2 separate regions of the Homo sapiens genome follow, and region 2 is linked to region 1. The links are contacts of gene promoters, found by promoter capture Hi-C in human tissues and cell types (Jung and others, 2019). All regions are on one chromosome and are shown on one strand. Each heading gives the region's core, a stretch centred on a gene start or on the middle of the fragment in contact. The rest is flanking DNA. Distances are from core to core; before and after follow the strand shown. Region 1 holds the start of NR6A1 (nuclear receptor subfamily 6 group A member 1). Region 2 overlaps NR6A1 (nuclear receptor subfamily 6 group A member 1).

What was found. Contacts are between HindIII fragments. The study calls those that stand out against the background at their distance.
Region 2: a contact is called between a fragment that was not itself captured here and the fragment with the promoter of NR6A1 in region 1, in 2 of the 25 tissues and cell types used here (IMR-90 fibroblasts and dorsolateral prefrontal cortex).

The regions. Positions count from the first base shown.
Region 1 is chr9:124,769,558-124,773,473 of GRCh38, reverse strand. It overlaps NR6A1 (nuclear receptor subfamily 6 group A member 1), which reads left to right and starts at 2,163. Exons shown (of 10, transcript NM_033334.4): 1 at 2,163-2,454. The coding sequence starts at 2,355. LOC124900274 (a long non-coding RNA gene) reads left to right here and starts at 2,994. Exons shown (of 2, transcript XR_007061773.1): 1 at 2,994-3,916. LOC107987126 (a long non-coding RNA gene) reads right to left here and starts at 2,117. Exons shown (of 2, transcript XR_001746926.3): 1 at 1,701-2,117; 2 at 1-772. RefSeq lists enhancers at 1,764-2,023, 1,814-2,381 and silencers at 2,094-2,673, 3,214-3,463. The HindIII fragment of the contact is 6,332 bases long and covers 1-3,916 here.
Region 2 is chr9:124,673,748-124,677,816 of GRCh38, reverse strand. All of the region lies in intron 2 of NR6A1 (nuclear receptor subfamily 6 group A member 1), which reads left to right. All of the region lies in intron 1 of MIR181A2HG (MIR181A2 host gene), which reads right to left. Among named protein-coding and RNA genes, the nearest start is that of MIR181A2, 17 kb to the left of the region's middle. The HindIII fragment of the contact is 3,220 bases long and covers 239-3,458 here.

The DNA.
Region 1 (3,916 bases), core at 914-3,413:
GAGGGTTGACTTAGAATCTTCATCAACTACCAAAACTCCAGGGCTGCACGTTTCTGCAGTGCCACTTAGGCTCTGATGGCATCTCCAGGGACAGAGAACTCACTACCACCAGAACCTGTGACAAAAAGGTAGATTCCTGAGAAAGGCCAGATGGTCCTGACTTTTTTTTTCTTTCTTTTTTTTTTTGAGACGGAGTTTTGCTCTTGTTGCCCAGGCTGGAGTGCAATTGCGCCATCTCGGCTTACCGCAGTCTCCGCCTCCTGGGTTCAAACGATTCTCCTGCCCCAGCCTCCTGAGTAGCTGGGATTACTGGCATGCGCCACCACGCCTGGCTAATTTTGTATTTTTAGTAGAGACGGGTTTTCTCCATATTGGTCAGGCTGGTCTCGAACTCCTGACTTCAGGTGATCCGCCCGCCTCAGTCTCCCAAAGTGTGGGGATTACAGGCATGAACCACGGCGCCCAGCAAGGTCCTAAAGTATTTTAGAACCCACAGCTGAGGGAATGGCAGGCCGTCCTCTCTTAGTCACAGGGTTTAGCTCCTGAAACACTGCTACCTAGCAGAGGGGATCTAGTTGTCCCTCGGTGGAAGGTATTAAGGAAGATGCCACTGAAGAAACATTTGAACAGGATCTTGAAAGATGAATAGGAGTTTGGGAGTGGGTCAGGTGAAGTCAGCCGCGTTCCAGCTTGAAGGAGCCAAGGATTAAGGTTCTGGTGTGTGACAGAATGGAGCTGGAATCCCCATCACTTCTGGTGGACTTCATCAGTGCTGGAAAGGGACAATATTGTTGCTATCTCATAGAGCAGGTATGAGGTTTAGACGGCAGAGCGTTAATGTAAGTCTCCCAGATTACGTATGAAATACAGTTTCACCAGGGTTGGTAAGGTCCAGTTGCCCCCAAGTGCAGAGAAGCGTTGCAACTTTCGTAGCAGGTGAGGGACGGGGTATGGTGCGAAATGTGGGCAAGGGTCAGGCCAAGCAGGGATGCGAATGCCAGGACGAGGACTTAAAATTAGGCAAAAAAAAAATAAAAGGGCTAAGGGATTGGTGGGGCGGGTGGGGCAGGAGAGGGCGAATGAGCGGCCACCGAGGAAGCTGCAGCATAATCCGGCAGAGCAGAAGTGGGCAAAGCACCAACGTTCTCGTTCTTTGTCTTCAAGTGGGCCAGGTAGGCCTTAGACCCTTGGCGGCAGCAGCGAAATCCTTTCCCGATGGGGTCGCCGAAGACGGACACCCCGGCGGGCCTAGTGACCGGTGGCCGCGCGCCACCTGGTGGCCGCAGCGGGTGGATTCGGCCGGGAGCCGCTGCAAAATTCGGGATTTTGCTTCCGGAAAGCTTCGGGAAACTGAGGTGGGAGGGGCAGGGGTTTGCGATCTTCCAACTTGATCCTGTCCTTATTCCAACCCCCTTTTACAGATAGGGAAACTGAGGAAAGGGGAAGGCAAACAAGGCTGGGCAAGGGATCCCTCTTAAACGGAAGGTTTCAAGACACCTGGGGTCAAGAGCCTAGGGCTTTCTTTAATAGCCCCAATGGCCCGGAGCTTAGTTTGCCCATCTGTTCTATGGGCAGGGGGAAAATGAAAGGGGAGGAGGGGAAACTTTAGTCTTTGCCGCCCACCCGGAGGTAAAAAGTCTTTAAAGACTACCCCGGAAAGAAGAGTTTTATATATTCCATTTGCATACGAACGCAGTCACCTCGAGTTAAACTCCGGTCCTTTAATCTCCGGTCCAATTTGTCCCGCAGCGGCAGGGAGAGGCCCACGTGAGTACCTTCAAGCCCCGCCTCCAGGGCCCCGCCCACAGGGCTGGGCTTCGTTGCACGTGCTCACCCGGCTGCCTCGCGATCCACCTCCTCGCAAAGACTCATTGTTGGGGTGGGGGGTTACGAGGACTCTTAGGGAACTTTGATCAGGTAGAAATCACAATCAAGACAAGGCCCGGAAGTATCCGCTTACTACATAGACATCAAACGCTTTGTCATGGTTCTTGATATTGACAGACTTTAGCTTTCCCTTCTCAGGACTTCTTATCCCTCCTTCCACCCCTTCAGTTGGTGCGGTCGGCGTGGCCGGCCTCGCTGAGCGGACTCCAACTTCCAGCGTGCCCCGCAGGGCCTTGCGCGGCAGCGGCGTGTGACGTCAGGGGAGGGAGCTGGCCAGTGCTGAGGGGGCGCGGCGCGGAGGGGCGCGGAGCGGCGCGGAGCCGGGCGGCTCGGGGCCCAGAGAGAGCCGCGGCCGGGAGCTCGCGGGCTCCTGACAACCTCCTCCCCTCGGCGGACGACGACCACGGCGACTAGGGCGCCGGTCATGGCGGAGCAACAAACCCGGCGCGGACCCTAGGCACCACCGCATGGAGCGGGACGAACCGCCGCCTAGCGGAGGGGGAGGCGGCGGGGGCTCGGCGGGGTTCCTGGAGCCTCCCGCCGCGCTCCCTCCGCCGCCGCGCAACGGTGGGTGAGGGGCCTGCGACGCCCGGGCCAGGCAGGAACCGGCTTCCTGAGCCTCCGCCAGGGATCCCCCTCCTCTCTGCCGACCCTCGCCCTGGGAAGCCGCAGCGGCCCCGCGGCCCCTTAGGGTGGCCCTTCACCCCGTTCCCCGTTGGCGCGGACCCTCCCTCTCCTCCCCGGTCTCGCTCAGGGTGGATCCTCCTCCTTCGTCCCTGTTCCCTTCTGCGCGGACCCTCCCCCTGCCCGGGTCCCTGGGCACCGAGCTTCATTTCCCCCTCCCCCCGTCCCCTCTGCACAGGCTTCCCCTCCCCCCGTCCCCTCAGCACCAATCCTCCCTCCTCCCCCCGGGTCCCCTCCCCCTGTCTTCCCAGCACCGAACCTTCCCCTCCCCCCGGGCTCCTCAGGTTGGAAGTCCCCACCGCGGTCCGTCAGTGGGGGCATCCCCTCACTCGGGTTCCCTTAACGCAGAGCCTCTCTTTTCCCCTACAGGGGTTCCTCCTCCCACCGAGGACGCTCCCTTCTTGCCCTGTTGACCCGACTCCACAGCACCCTTGTACCGCTCAGCTTTCTAGAGCGTTTTCCTCTTCTGCAGCCTCGAGCGTTCTTCCTTGAATACTACGAGCCCCCCACCTCTGCCGAACCCCCGTTCGCTAGACATCCCCCAGTCGTTTCCTTTTTCGGACCCCTTCGCGCCTCCTGCTTCCCCTGCGCCTCACCTTCCTCAACGCCCCGCGCGCTCTGGCCGGTCTCCGCCCCTGCTCAGCTCCCCTCTCCGCCAGGCAACGGCTTTCCCTGGCCGAGGGCTCCAGCCCGCCCCGGGGCCCCGGACACCTGCCTCCTCCCGGCTTCTGCCCGGCAGGTCCCGGTCCCCACCTCTTAGTCTCAGTTCTCCTCTTTCTTGTCCCGATCCGGGACCTTGGGAGCTGAGAATCCCTCACCTGGCCCGGCCCTTCCTACCGCTCGTCCCTCGCCCCCTCGCCCGGGCCGGGTCCTCAGGTTCCTCGGGGCTTCCTCGCCCTCCTCCCCTTCGCTCCCTCCCCCTGCGGGGTGTTTTATTTGTATCTGTTTGATATTTTCCTCCTCGGTGTTTGCCGCGGAATGTTTTTATTGGTAACGTGTTAGGAGCTTTTGTGAGGTCGTAAAAGGTGAACTTTTGAACTTGGAAAGCGCCCTGGAGCAATTAGCGCAGGCGATCGCCCCGGGAGGCCTGCATTACAAAGGGTGCTCGCACCGGCCGGCAAACGCTCCGGCGGCAAACCCGATTTATTTATTTGCCCTGTTTTCCACCTTTCACATCTCCTCATTTCCGAATAAAGGGAGGCTCTCAGAGATCAGTGCCTCCTCCCCTCGCTGCGCCATAAACTCGCAGTTCTCTGAGAGATCTAGGACCGAACAGTGTCTAACAAGTAACAGATTTCAAATTGAATGCAAACACCCGGGACAGTTAGGAGGCACTAAAAATTAA
Region 2 (4,069 bases), core at 599-3,098, 95 kb after region 1:
CAAACTATAAAGAAAACAGGAAAGTAAAGGCTGGATTTGATTATTAGTGGTGAAAGGAATACTATCTGAGATTAGAATGATAAGTATGTTTTGGAGAGAAAGGTCACGAGGGAATCCTGTGGGCTGCAATAAATGTGTGCTCATATTTTGATCTGGATAGTAGTTAACATATATAATACATATGAGAAAACTTTATCAGACTTAAGATTTGTTTACCTTACCATATGTAAATTATATCTCAAAAGGTAAAATAAGGCTGGGCATAGTGGCTCATGCTTGTAATCCTAGCACTTTGGGAGGCTGAAGCAAGCAGATAGATGGCTTGAGCTCAGGAGTTTGAGACTAGCCTGGGCAACATGATGAAACCCCGTCTCTACAAAAAAATACAAAAATTAGCTAGTATGGTGGTGCCCACCTGTAGTCCCAGCTACTTGTGGGGCTGAGGCAGGAGGATCACTTGAACATGAGAGGTTGAGGCTGCAGTGAGCTGAGATCAAGCCACTACACTCCAACCTGCGTGACAAAGTGAGACTCTGTCTCCAGAAGAAAGGAAATAGTAATAATAATTTGGAAGTAAAGCTTGGTAGTTACTATACTATTTTGACCATATATGAAAATTTGAAATATTTCATGATAGGAAACATAATCCTATCACTCTAAACATGTCAAATTATATATCTAGTTTATGAGCACTAAGGCCTTTTTTTTTCTTCTTTAACCTGTTATTTTTGAGATTTGGAATTTTTATGTTTTTCTTGGATGCCACTGGAGGGAAATAGAGAATGAAGTCTTGTTTGTGTGGTATCAGTTGTTGAAAGGGACAAACGCAGTTTTGATCTTGAAACTAGCTTATGTGTAAATTCTTTTCAGTCTTGAATATGAGTGAAGTAAAGGTAACCACTTAGCTCTGTTAAGTATATGATTGCTCTAGTCACGAATTTTAAAGGTTCTATCGTTCATAAGTTTGTCTAGTACTTACTGAGGACTTGCCATATATCTGATATTGTGAGAAGAACTGTCCCAAACGGTGACATTACTATTTCATTTTGCATTTGAGGTTACTGAGGATCTGGATACTTAAACTTCCAATGTCAGAATATAAACAAGAAAGTAATCATCACTCTATAAACTGATTCTTTATTGCCACAAATGGATTATCACTACTTTAGGAGAGATCCTGTTTTTGAAGTCTACTGTTTTAGAAGTCTTTTTAGAGCTTGTACTAAGTGGCCTTTAAAAATCTCATAATAATTTCTAACACTTTCTTAATAACTTGGCAGTATGGCTTTGTCATTTAAAACAAAATCTGGAGGAAAGGAAAATATTTATTTCCCTGTGGCATGAAAAGAGGCTATATGTAGGTCATTTTTTTTTTTAAATAAAAGGCAAGAAAGTCTCCCTCCAGACCACATCAGAACTATGCCAGCTTGGTACGGGGCCCTTACCAGAGTAATGATGTAAGAATCTGAGAGTACATAGTGCAGCTGCCAAAGCTCATAATGTTTAATTTCAGCACTGTCTGTTTGCCAGAGTTTGCAGCTCAATATTTTTTTCTGTATGGATCAAATTATAATCACATATATTTATCTTATTGGGGTAGGAGAAGTAAAGAGTTATTGTTTGATAAATTTGCCGTTTTCCTAGGGAATGGTGCTGTTTTGCCTGTCACATGCTTCTGAGCATTATTCCCCCACTGATTCCTAAGAACTTATTCTCCTGGGTGAATTCTTCTAACTTGTGACACAGAGGGGCAATTCACACCTTGCCTGTTTATATTTTGCAAGAAAACCCTTCTCTTAGCGTGGGTATCTATTCAGGCAGTTCCATGTGCTACATTCCATCCATTTGCCAAGTCTTGGACTCTTATCCAAAGTACAATATTTGAGTATACAATTACACCTACACGTACCGGCAAGAGCGTACTTTTTCCTAGCCTCTCTTGGAGAACGCTTGAAGCCAGAGGAGCAAATCCAGATGTTCTGGATTGAGTTTGGCACCTTCAATTGAGAATTCTAGATGGAAAGATTTCATTTGGAAGTGTACCAGGCTTGCCCAGCAGTTGCTTCCTGTTGCTAACCATCATATTTTTATGACCAAAGATTCTAGACTGCCTCCTTTGTTGAGCAGAAAGAATTACACACTAGGGCCACATGGGAAGTGGCTTCTCATCATTTGAGAGAAATATCAGCAGGCATGCAGAAGAGGGTAGCCTTGCTATTGGGAATAAATCTGGGTTGAGAGCAGGTACAACTACAGCTGCAGCTCTTTAGCCAGACCTGGCTTTATTTAAATTTCAAACAGAAATCTTTGACATCAACCTAAGTGAACCATTATTGGCTGTCTGCCACCTAACAGTACCTTGTACAAGGAGGAGGTGCTCTCTGACTGTATTCAGTCAACACTTATTGAACACCTTCTGTGTGTGCCAGGCAATGTGCTAGATGCTGGTGATGAATAAAGTATTTTTTCGAGAAGTTACAGTCTGGTAGGAGGCACAGACTCTTAGACAGATAAATTACAATTCACTGATTTTATTTGTTGCTTATACAATTTAGTATTTTGTTTGCTTTGTAAGTCAGCAACATAAGCCAGTCCACAGGATTAACTCCATAACTTTCTAAGTAAGAACAAGCATAGGATTTCCTTTCAGTTCTAAAGAATGTTTACTTGCTTGCATTTTTGCGTCTTTAGATACCTCTTCTGACTTGCCCAGGGATGAAGTTTGTGGAGTATGGGAAGAAAAGACTAGTATAAGGCAGGAAGGCATTTCTAAGAAAGCTTCCAGAATTGATTATTTTGTCCTAAGAGATGTTTTCTTCACTTAAAAATTATGTGAGAACGCACAAAGGTTAGCTGTGTTGGTTATCAGTTTGTTGTAAGGTAAGAGCAAGAAAAATCATTTTCCTCTATCTCTCTGGAATGTAGGACTCCTTTATCTGAGTGATTACATGGTTAAGGCGGAGCTAGAAAATACATTTCCTTCATACCTGTTTCTGGATGGATGAGGTCACATTTACTTAGTAGTTATATAGTTCCTGTGTTGTAATTTGCTATTCCTTCAGCCTTTTTTCCTCCCATTTTTGAAGATGGGTATATGAATATTTCCATTGGGCCTCTCTTAAATACAAGAAAAATATTAAGTTGCTTATGTCCAAATTCATTTCTTTGATGTGCAGCAGCCTCAAAGCATGTGTACCTCTGTTATTAAGATAATAATAGTTAATATTTATATAGCACTTATGTTCCAGGTTTTATTTTTAGGACTTTATATGTAAAGCACTTAAAAGAGGGCTTGTCTTATCCCCATAACAACCCAGTAAGATAGATACTTATTATTTTTCCCATTTTACAGATGAAAATAGAAAGACACAGTAAGGGAAATAAATTGCCCAAGATCACACAGGTATTAAGTGGCAGAGCCAGGATTTGAACTCAGGAAATCCAGCTTCATAGCGTTAATTGCTGCACTGTACCATTTCATACTCAGTTTGATACTGAATGATATGGAGTTCCCAAAGAGTGTAAGGGGTAACATCTACCATTTGAGTGCCTCCTGTGTACCTAGGCATTGTATGTGTCATTTTACTTCTTTTCAATCTTAAGGGTGTGTGAATTGGTCTCCATTTTACAGATGATAATATGATAATATCAGCTAACATTTATGGAGCACTTACTATGGGTCAGGCATTGTACTAAGTGGTTTACTTATATTACCTCATTTAATGTTGACAGTAGTTATGTGGATGATTATTCTCATTTTGGAAATGAGAAAACTGAAGCTAGAGAAAAGTCGTTTGCTGAGGGTCACATAGCTAAGAAGGGACAGAGCTGAGATTTGAAGACAGATGCCAAGATCTTAATTACCACCTAATATGTGATGGAAAATAGTAATTAGCTAGAAATTCCAACAATGAGGTGAATCTCAGAGGACAGAGCCTAGTTCCAAATCTTGTTCCTCATCCTTAATCCTCGTATATTTGTTGATTAATTATTGCCCTTGCTTATCTTCTTTAGGCGCTCACAATAGAGAAATTTGATAGGTGTCGGAGATGACCTTCTTGTCTGAAAA